2 separate regions of the Homo sapiens genome follow, and region 1 is linked to region 2. The links are contacts of gene promoters, found by promoter capture Hi-C in blood cells and fetal thymus (Javierre and others, 2016). All regions are on one chromosome and are shown on one strand. Each heading gives the region's core, a stretch centred on a gene start or on the middle of the fragment in contact. The rest is flanking DNA. Distances are from core to core; before and after follow the strand shown. Region 1 overlaps LDLRAD4 (low density lipoprotein receptor class A domain containing 4). Region 2 holds the start of SEH1L (SEH1 like nucleoporin).

The links. The method cuts DNA at HindIII sites, captures the fragments that hold promoters and counts their contacts. A CHiCAGO score of 5 or more calls a contact.
Region 1: a contact is called between a fragment that was not itself captured here and the fragment with the promoter of SEH1L in region 2, in 1 of 17 cell types (naive B cells). The highest score is 5.1, in naive B cells.

What each region holds. Positions count from the first base shown.
Region 1 is chr18:13,598,078-13,602,927 of GRCh38, reverse strand. All of the region lies in intron 4 of LDLRAD4 (low density lipoprotein receptor class A domain containing 4), which reads right to left. Among named protein-coding and RNA genes, the nearest start is that of MIR4526, 11 kb to the left of the region's middle. The HindIII fragment of the contact is 2,179 bases long and covers 2,147-4,325 here.
Region 2 is chr18:12,946,269-12,951,506 of GRCh38, reverse strand. SEH1L (SEH1 like nucleoporin) reads right to left here and starts at 3,496. Exons shown (of 9, transcript NM_001013437.2): 1 at 3,275-3,496. The coding sequence starts at 3,385. RefSeq lists an enhancer at 2,316-2,917 and silencers at 2,849-2,948, 2,959-3,308, 3,349-3,798. The HindIII fragment of the contact is 15,085 bases long and covers 1-4,538 here.

The DNA of each region.
Region 1 (4,850 bases), core at 1,987-4,486, 650 kb before region 2:
GTCCTCTCCAATAGGATTCCTTGGAACCTGTTCCAATGCTGAAAGCCATGATGTGCCTGGAGGGATTGCTTAGTTCAATATTTTACTTATTTGTGACTTGAAAAAGTACTGAAATGACAAATTTTTATTTGTTTTTTAATTTCTAGTTTTTCTTCTTTTTATTTTTTAAATAAAAAATTAGGCCGGGCACAGTGGCTCACACCTGTAATCTTAACACTTTGGGAGGCCAAGGTGGGCAGATCACTTAAGGTCAGAAGTTCGAGACCAGCCTGGCCAATATGTTGAAACCCAGACTCTACTAAAAATACAAAAATTAGTTAGAAATTCCTTGAACCCGGGAGGCGGAGGTTGCAATGAGCTGAGATTGTGCCACTCCACTCCAGCCTGGGTGACAGAGTGAGACTCCATCTCAAAAAAAAAAAAAAAAAAAAAAATTAAATGCCATGGTTTAAGAATGATGTCTGATAAAATTCCCCCCATCCCACCACCAATGATGATTCCCAAAGCAACCAATATACTGCTTTGGGAAGGATGTGGATTTGCAGTCAGATATCCTGGGTTGAAATTCTAACCCCTACTAAACTGTCTGATACGATCAAGTTCTTTTTTACTTTTAGTATCAGGTTCGGGGGTACATGTGCAGGTTTGATACAAGGTTATACTGCATGCTGCTGGGGCTTGTGCTTCTATTGATCTTGTCTCCAAGACAGTGAGCATAATACCCGATAGGAAGTTTTTCAGCCCTTTCCCACCTCTCTCCTTCCTTCCTTTTGGAGTCCCCAGTTTCTATTGTTCCCATTTCTATGTCCATGAGTATCCAGTGCTTAGCTTCCATGTATAAGTGAGAAAATACTTATATTTACTTTTTCTGTTTCTGCATTAATTCACTTAGAATAATGGCCTCCGGCTGCATCCATGTTTCTGCAAAGGACATGATTTCATTCTTTTTCACAGCTGTGTAGTACTTCATGGTGCATATGTACCACATTTTCTTCATCCACTACGGATGGACATCTAGGTTGATTCCATGTCTTTGCTATTGTGAACAAGTGCTACAATAAATATACAGGTGCAAGTGTCTTTTTGGTAGACTGATTTATTTTCCTTTGGGCATATATCCAGTAGTGGGATTGCTGGGTGGAATGGTAGTTCTATTTTCAGTTCTTTGAGAAATCTCCAAACTGCATTCTATAGTGGCTGAACTAACTTGCATTTCCACCAAGAGTGTGTAAGTGTTCCCTTTTCTTTTCCTTTTTTTTTCTTTTTTTTTTTTTCAGACAGAGTCTCACTCTGTCGCCCAGGCTGGAGTGCCGTGGCGCAATCTTGGCTCACTGCAAGCTCCGCCTCCCGGGTTCATGCCATTCTCCTGCCTCAGCCTCCCGAGTAGCTGGGACTACAGGCGCCCGCCACCATGCCCGGAAGTGTTCCCTTTTCTCTGCAGCCTCGTCAATATCTGTTATTTTTTGTCTTTTTAATAATAGCTGTTTTGACTGCTGTGAGGTGGTCACTGTGGTTTTGATTTGCATTTCTCTTATGGTTAGTGATGTTGAGCATTTTTTCCTATGTTTGTTGGTCACTTGTAAGTCTTCTTTTGAGAAGTGTTTGTTCATGTCCTTTGCCCAGTTTTTAGTGGGGTTATTTGTTTTATTCTCATTGATTTGTTTACATTCCTCATAGATTTTGGATAAATGATCATTGTTAAATGCATTATAACATCAGATTTCTGCGTTTAAAATATTTCTACAGGGCTGACAAATGGAAACATGACAAACTTAGCTGTGAATGTGAGGCCCCTGGTTAACCAGAGATAATGGAGATGGATCGACTGGACTTTATGATGACACCTTGCCACCATGAAATGGACAGAAGCCAAAGGGTTAGGAGAACAGGTGCCCATCCTCCCTAAAGGCCTGATAGTGCCTTTTATGCAGATAAGGAGAAACATGGTCTTGTTTTGATTAAAAATGACCTTAATTAAGTCTGTTATTCTCAACATAGTAAATACCCACAGCAGGAAAGCAAATACAGTAAAATAGAGTGTTAATAATAAAAATGTAGAGTCCTCATAGAAGGAATGCTACTCTGGCAGAAACCCATCTAATTTTGGTTATACAAATAAAAGTAATTTTAAAAAAATTTACAAGCTTAGAAATGGTAATACTGCAAATACCTTTACAATTTTGTTTCCTATAATATACCTTACAGAAAAATTTTCCAAACCAGTCTATCACCATTCATCCTCTGAGAGGCAGAAATCCTGGCAAAGGTTGGCTGCAGGGTGGCAATTTGGTCACACATGGTCTTCTTGGTGATTTTTAGCTCAAACAGACAAAACAGCAAATGGCGAACCTTGATCAGACTCCAGCTGAATGCCCTGGAAGTCTTAGGCTACAGATTCTGTCTGCTGTCATTATGCCTGGAACATTTTGGCTTTAGTGACTCTTGATGCAGTTGGATGCTGGTCAGGAGACCCAGGGTCTAGTGCCACCTGTCCTGCTAGCTGAAAGTGACATCTTGAGTCACACAGCTGTGCAGTCCTCACATGTCTCATTTCATTGCTAGGACCAAATCAATGTCTTGCACACTTCAGTCCAAGTCCTTCAAGTCCCACCCTAAGGATTCTTAAAATACCTGCACTCCACATGTTCTATTATTTATTTAATATTGATTTTAAACTGGACTTCAATTAATTCATTTTTTAAAAAATTTAACTTCTAAGTAACAATATCCAAAAAATCACAGGCCTGATATGCTAGATATTTTAAATAAAACATTTGAGGCAAGCATATTATTAAAAATTGTATAATAAAATTACAGGTATAGTGGTATGTGCCTATAGTTTCAGCTACCTGGGAGGCTAAGGCAAGAGGATTGCTTCATTTGCTCAGGAGTTTGAGACCAGACTGGTCAATATAGTGAGACCCTGTCTCTATTTTTAAAAGATATATAATAAAATCCAAAACAATCTTTAATGTTATTTATAGAATATAAAGATAATTTTCTTTCTTTTGCTCATTTAAAAGAAAGGTTTGCTGTATAATTTAGTTTCAATCAATTAGTAAGAAAAACATGACTTGTCCACATATATATTGTGTTTGAAACTTTAACACAGTTAAAATATAATATAGGAGACTCACGGCCGGGTGCGGTGGCTCATGCCTGTAATCCCAGCACTATGGGAGGCCAAGACAGGCGGATCACGAGGTCAGGAGATCGAGACCATCCTGGCTAACAGGGTGAAACCCCATCTCTACTAAAAATACAAAAAAATTAGCCGGGTGTGGTGGCGGGCGCCTGTAGTCCCAGCCACTCAGGAGGCTGAGGCAGGAAAATGGCGTGAACCCAGGAGGTGGAGCTTGCAGTGAGCCGTGATCACGCCACTACACTCCATCCTGGGTGACTGAGTGAGACTCTGTCTCAAAAAAAAAAAAAAAAAAAAAATTGGAGACTCAAAGAATAGTGAGCTGAGAAGTTCCACAGACTCACTTGCCAGGAAAACAACCATAATTGCTGAAATTATGTAAAAGAGTAACCATTTTGAGTCTCTGAAAATTGTCCAAGGGAATTTCAGCAGATTAATAAATATCTTGTTTCAAGAAAATCTATTAAAATCTCTTACTTCCATTGTAAGAACAGTGACAGTCTGTGGCACTTGAGCCACAACCCACTCCTTCCCTCTCCCTTCCCCAGTTCAGCACAGGGAAGATCTACACTGAGTGGGTGTGGCAAAAAAACAAGAGTTTCCTCTCTCCCCACTTCCCAACAAAGCCTATGGCATCTCCAGTGAAAGGCAAGCACAGCACGTCCCTGTTGCAGAGGTTAAATTACAGGTGAATGCAGTCAAGAGGCCATAGGCTTCCTATTACCACTTGGCCTTCCTTGTTCTACCCCTTCCTCACCCCCACTCTTAGGGCAGAAGATCTATCCGAGGAATGGCAGGCTAATGATAGCATGGTCCCAACTGCTTCTAGCCCAGTTCATTCACAGGGTGGAAATTCCATGTAAGGAGAGGCAAGCTAAAAAGACCAGCGGCTACTACCTCTACCCAGTGTCCTGCCCATCCTGCCCATAAAGTTGAGGAGGGCTCACTCAGAGAAGTGAGCTAATGTCCCCACTCCAGCTGTGGAGCATCAACTCAGAGATTTTGCCCAGAGTGTACAGGCAGGCCATAAGAACAAAGAGTTCCAAAGCTCTGCTACCGAAAACTTACTTTATTTAGAACAGTATGTGAGGAAGCTCAAGTGTAAGGGTGCTTTCAAAAACTGTAGAAATTTTGGTAGTAAGAAATTGAGAGGAGGCTAGTAGCTCTTTGAGAGTGACAAGCTTAACTCTAGGTCAGCAATTTTACAGAGAATCAGAGAAAGAGACAGTTAAGAAGAACCTTTCTGGGGTCAGAACAAACCTCAAAGGCTAGATCAAAAATGACCCCTGCAAAGGGGCCTGAATTTAGTTGGATCAGACTCTGTAGTGATTTATGCCCCAGGCATAGAGGAAAACAATAAAGCAATTAGCCAGCAATTAGTGGAAACTAACAGCTGGGTGTGATACCAACTAAGGCAGACAGCTTGACAGAAATATGAAGCAAAGAAACAAAGAGAGCTCTGCTAAAATCACTGCCATCCCAGGGTGACTGTGCCATATCCAAGGCTGTGCCCTCTGAGGAGTGACATCAGAGGCTTCACATTGCAAGGAAAACAGACTTTAATAAAATAGTCCAACGAAGCTACTAAATAAATGAGAAAACAACAAGAAGTTCTGGGGAGGAGGAGAAAATCCGTCTCTAGAGGAGTCAATACAATATATTATCAAAATGTCCAGTTTTCAGTAACAAAAAATGAGACAAGCAAAGG
Region 2 (5,238 bases), core at 2,247-4,746:
AGGCAAGACAATCGTTTGAACCCCAGAGGCGGAGGTCGCAGTGAGCTGACATCACGCCACTGCACTCCAGCCTGGGAGACAAAGCAAGACTCCGTCTCAAAAAATTTACATTGAGAACCTTGAATGTGTCAAGCACTGGGCCAAGCACCAAGGGATTCAGGAAGCTGAGCTCTATTAGGTAACAGAGACAATTAGTTACAGTCACTACGCTTGGAGGCCATTTTAAACAGCAAAATCACCAACAGAAAGAACAAATAATCATTGCACTAAATAAATCATGAAAAACACCTGCTTACAGTATGAGCCAAAATAGAGTATCGCCTGGTTTCACCTCAATGGGAAACGTCTGTCCTGAGACTCAAACTTTTTCACCACTCCTCACACATGCACAAATGACTGCAAAACCAGTGTGACTTTTGGGGTACAAGTAAATTTCAGAGTAGACAAATTCAAAAAATACAGAATCTACAAACAACAGGCTCAACTGTACATGTAACAAATGGTAAAGCAAAAATATTGAAACCAGGCATGGTGGTGCACACCTGTAGTCCCAGCTACTCAAGAGGCTGAGGCAGGAGGGATTACTTGAGCCCAGGAGTTTAAGGCTATGATCACGCCCGTGAATAGCCACTGCACTCCAGCCTGGGCAACATGGCAAGACTCCATCTCAAAACAAAAAAATTAAACCTTATTACCCAGAAAAAATATAGATTACAATAAGAAGGTGCCAATTTCACCTGTTAAAAATGTAACGAGGGCAATAACACTATCAAATCAATACTATCACTGGCGGTATAAAACGGTACGACCTGCAAAATAGCAATTTGTCAATTCTCTTCAATAGTGTTTAAAATATCCACTAATTTATCTTCTAGAATTAGCCTAAGAAAATCATTCAAAATACATAAAATGCTAAACTAATGAAAAATTTCAGTACAACACTATTTCTGACAAGACATATACGTATATACACACACTCTACCATGACAACTTAAAACGTTAAAGGAAAAACAGAGGAAATCAATAAATATTAACACATTAGCAATAAGTCTATAATTTTTTCACTTTCTAAAAAGAAAAATATATTACTTGCTCAATTAAAAATATATACAAATAAATACATGGCTCCTCCTTTAAAAAAAAAGTACTCTGGAATAAATGGACCTAAGAGGGCTGGGCAAGGTGACTCACACCTGTAATCCCAGCACTCTGGGAGGCTGAGGTGAGAGGATCACTTGAGCTCAGGAGTTCGAGACTAGCCTGGGCAACGCAGCAAGACCCTGCCTCTACAAAAAAAATGTTTTAATTGGCCAGGCGTGGTGGCGTGCACTCGTAGTCCCAGCTACTGGAGAGGCTAAGGTGGGAGGATGGCTTGAACCTGGGATGTTGAGGCTGCAACAAGCCAAGATCGCACCACTGCACTCCAGCCTGGGTGACAGAGCCAGACTCTGCCTCAAAAAAAAAGGAAAAAGAAAAAAGAAAAAAAAAATTATACTAAGTGAAATAAACCAAATATAAAAGGGCGAATATTCTATGATTCTATTTATCTGAGGTACCTAGAATATGCAAATTAATAGAAAGCAGTAGAATAGAGGTTACCAGAGGATGGGGTGGCGGAACAGGGTGCTCTTGGGTACAGAGTTTCAGTTTAGGATGATGAAAAGGTTCTGGAGATGGGCAGGGGCGACGCTGCACAAAAATGTGAATGCTGTGCTCTATGCCACTGAATTCTACACTTTAAAACGGTTAACGTGGGCCGGGCGCGGTGGCTCACGCCCGTAATCCTAGCACTTTGGGAGGCCGAGGTGGGCGGATCACGAGGTCAGGAGATAGAGACCATCCTGGCTAACATGGTGAAACCCTGTCTCTACTAAAAAATACAAAAAATTAGCCGGGCGTGGTGGCGGGCGCCTGTAGTCCCAGCTACTTGGGAGGCTGAGGCAGGAGAATGGCGTGAACCCGGGAGGCGGAGCTTGCAGTGAGCCAAGATTGCGCCACCCCACTCCAGCCTGGGTGACAGAGCAAGACTCCGTCTCAAAAAAAAAAAAAAAAAAAAAAAAAAAACGGTTAACGTAGTTTATTACAACAAAAATAAACTTGTTTTAAAAAAGAAACTACATCTTTTAAAAATTGCAACACTATTTATAAAAAGTTTATCTTTGAGAGATCACTGGTATCAAACTCGAATGTGAAAAAGGATAAACTATCCTTCAGATTTCCAGTTACTCTGGAGTTGTCGAGAACCAAATAATCCGCACTCCAGCTTTCATTCATCCTGCAACACATCTGGGAGGTTCCTAAATCTCATGTAGCATCCCCACATTAGAAATTCTGCTTGTAGGCCGGGCGCGGTGGCTCACGCCTGTAATCCCAGCACTTTGGGAGGCCGAGGCGCCGAGGCGGGTGGATCACGAGGTCAGGAGTTCGAGACCAGCCTGGCCCACATGGTGAAACTCTGTCTCTACTAAAAAATACAAAAAAAAAAAAAGATTAGCCGGGGGTGGTGGCGTGCACCTGTAATCCCTGCTACTTGGGAGGCTGGGGCAGGATAATCGCCTGAAAGCGGGAGGCGGACGTTGCAGTGAGCCGAGATCGTGCCATTGCACTCCAGCCTGGGTGACAGAGTGAGACTCGGTCTCAAAAAAAAAAAAAAAAAAAGAAAAGAAATTCTGCTTGTCGGAAGTGTCTACAGACGTTTACGGGAACTTCAAGAAACAAACCCTCCGATTCCTGGGCAGCAAGCAGGGAAATCATTGGATGTAAATGGTTTGTATTTTTCTTCCTCGGCGTAACAAAGTGAGCTTCTGCTCTGAACCCACGGAGAAAACCATGTGCCCTGGTGAGAGAACACCGGCGGGGCACAGAACTCGACGCAGCGCCAGCCAGGCAAAGTCTCCCACCAGGTCCCACTGCAGGTCGTCGGGTGAACAGCGCGGGCAAGACCCACGACGCCGAGGCTGACGGTGGGATGCCCCTGGGTTCCCGCCCGCAGCCCCGGCAGCGCGGCCTGGGAGAGGGCCCGGCGTACCCTGCGGGCGGGAGCGCGCACGTGGCACCAGCTGCGCAGGCGCACGGGAGGGCGGCCCGCGAGGCCGCCGTGACCCCACAATACGCGGGCGGGGAGGGCTTCCGCTCAGTCCAGCCAGGGCTCGCCCGCCACCCCACAGCTTCCAGCGGCGTCACTGAACCAAGACACAGCCCCGTTCCCCGCGCCGCCCACCCACTCCCCTTCCTTCCTTCCGGGGTCGGCCCCGCCCGCAAGCGCCGCGCGCACCTTAACGCTCTGATCGCTGGAGCAGGTTGCCATCCGCCGCCCGTGGAAGTCGAAAGAGACATCGTGGATGAGATCCTTGTGGTCCGCCGCGATGCTGCGAGCCACAAACATGGTTTCCGTCGGGCCCGCGCCTCCGAAGAGGACAGTGGCGGCGGCAGCGGCGGCGGCGCGTGGCCCGTAGCCTAGCCAGACCTCGCAGCCCGGGAGCGCACGGCTTGTGCTGCCCACGCCCCCGCACCGCCCCTGCCTATCAAGCCCCGCCCACACACCCTCCGGTCCTTCAAGCCCCGCCCCACCCACCGGCCCGTCAGGCCCCACACAGTCCCCTGGCCCCTCAAGCCCTGCCCACGCCCCGGCCCGTCATGACTCGCCCCACCTTCCGGTCCCTCAAGCCCCGCCCCGCCCCCAGGCCCGTCAAGCCCCGCCTACCCTCCCACCAGAGCCGTCATGCCTCGCCCCACCCTCCCGCCCCCTCAAGCCCCGCCCTGTTCCCGGCTCGTCAATCCTCGTCCCGCCCCCGGCCCGTCATGCCCTACGATCCTGGTGCGGGTTCCTCCAGGCTCTGACCGTTCGGCGGCGGAGGGTGCTCTGCAAAAGGCGAGTTACCTGTGCTGAGAAGTAGTAAGAGCTTATTGGTATACTGTGCAAATGAAGAAAGATGAAAAAGTGAAGACTGCCTCTCACGGTCCTCGGCCCTGAATCATTTAAGTCGACGTTTGGATGTGTTTCCCCCCAGACACATGCGAGGCGCGCGGAGCAGGTGGAGAAGACGAACCGTGGGTTTGGTCAGGAGCCGCGCTCCGTCGGGACGGCTGAAGAGCAGGGAGGGCCGGGGAGACGCCTGAGGGGATGACAAGCAGTCCAGGCTCGGCAGCCTAAGAGCGAAGGCTGGACGGGGAGGAAAGGATCAGAAGTAGTAGTTTAAATGTGTCAAGATTTTACAGGTAGAACAGGCCTGGGGGTGCTAGGAGCCACCACGGGGGTAGGGAAATAGTATGAATTAGAAGAGTCCGCCTGTAGAAACGTGTCATCCCGGGGGAAGGAAGCGGCCGGGGAAGTGGGCTGCTTGCTACCCGGGAGCCAGAGTCCTCCGGGGAAAAGGAAGTGAAGAGGGCCAGAGCCCCTGGGAAGAGGCCTGGCTCAGATCAAGGATTCTGCCAAAACCGGAAAGTGGAGGAGCCAACGACTCGGGGGGTTTTGCTTATCAGGAAAAGGCATTCTAGAGGGCGTAGTGGTAAAGTTAGGATGGGAGACAGTGGAAGCTTGCGTCAGGGGAGCGAAAGTACAGAAAAAAAAAAAATGAGGCTGCAGAAGGGACTTGCCCTTTGGATTTTGGCCAGGAATGACAAAAATGTGAGGTATGGTAAAATTAGCAGGCTGGAAAGTTTTTTAAATGATTAGTCCCAGCTGTCCCCTGATGGATTGCACAGAAACCTGCAAAGAGAAGTGGCGCAATGACCTGACCTTTTTCAACCATAAATAAGATTTTATTGCTACTTTAAGAGGTGGGCCCCACCTCTTATGATAACTGATAACAACTATAACTTTTTTGAAGGTCAAAGACACTCATTTCCAAAGAAAGTGCTCACTATAAAAGTCCAATCAAAATATATTGATTATTATAAAAATATCAAAACAGTTTAAAAATTGTTTTAATTAAATTTAAATACAGACAGTAAACAGATCATTGGTTGCCAGAGATTATCAGAGTGGGAGTGAAGTGTTGAATTAGGTGAAACAGTGGATTTTTTAAAATAGACTTTAGTTTTTAGAACACTTTCAGGTTCACAGCAAAATTGAGCAGAAAATAGAGTTCCCGTATGTACCCCTACTGTCACACATGCACAGCATCCTCCACTGTCAACATCCCATACCAAAGTGGTACCTTTGTTATGATCAGTGAACCTACATTGACACATCATTATCACCCAAAATTCAGAGTTTGCATTAGGGTTCACTCTTGG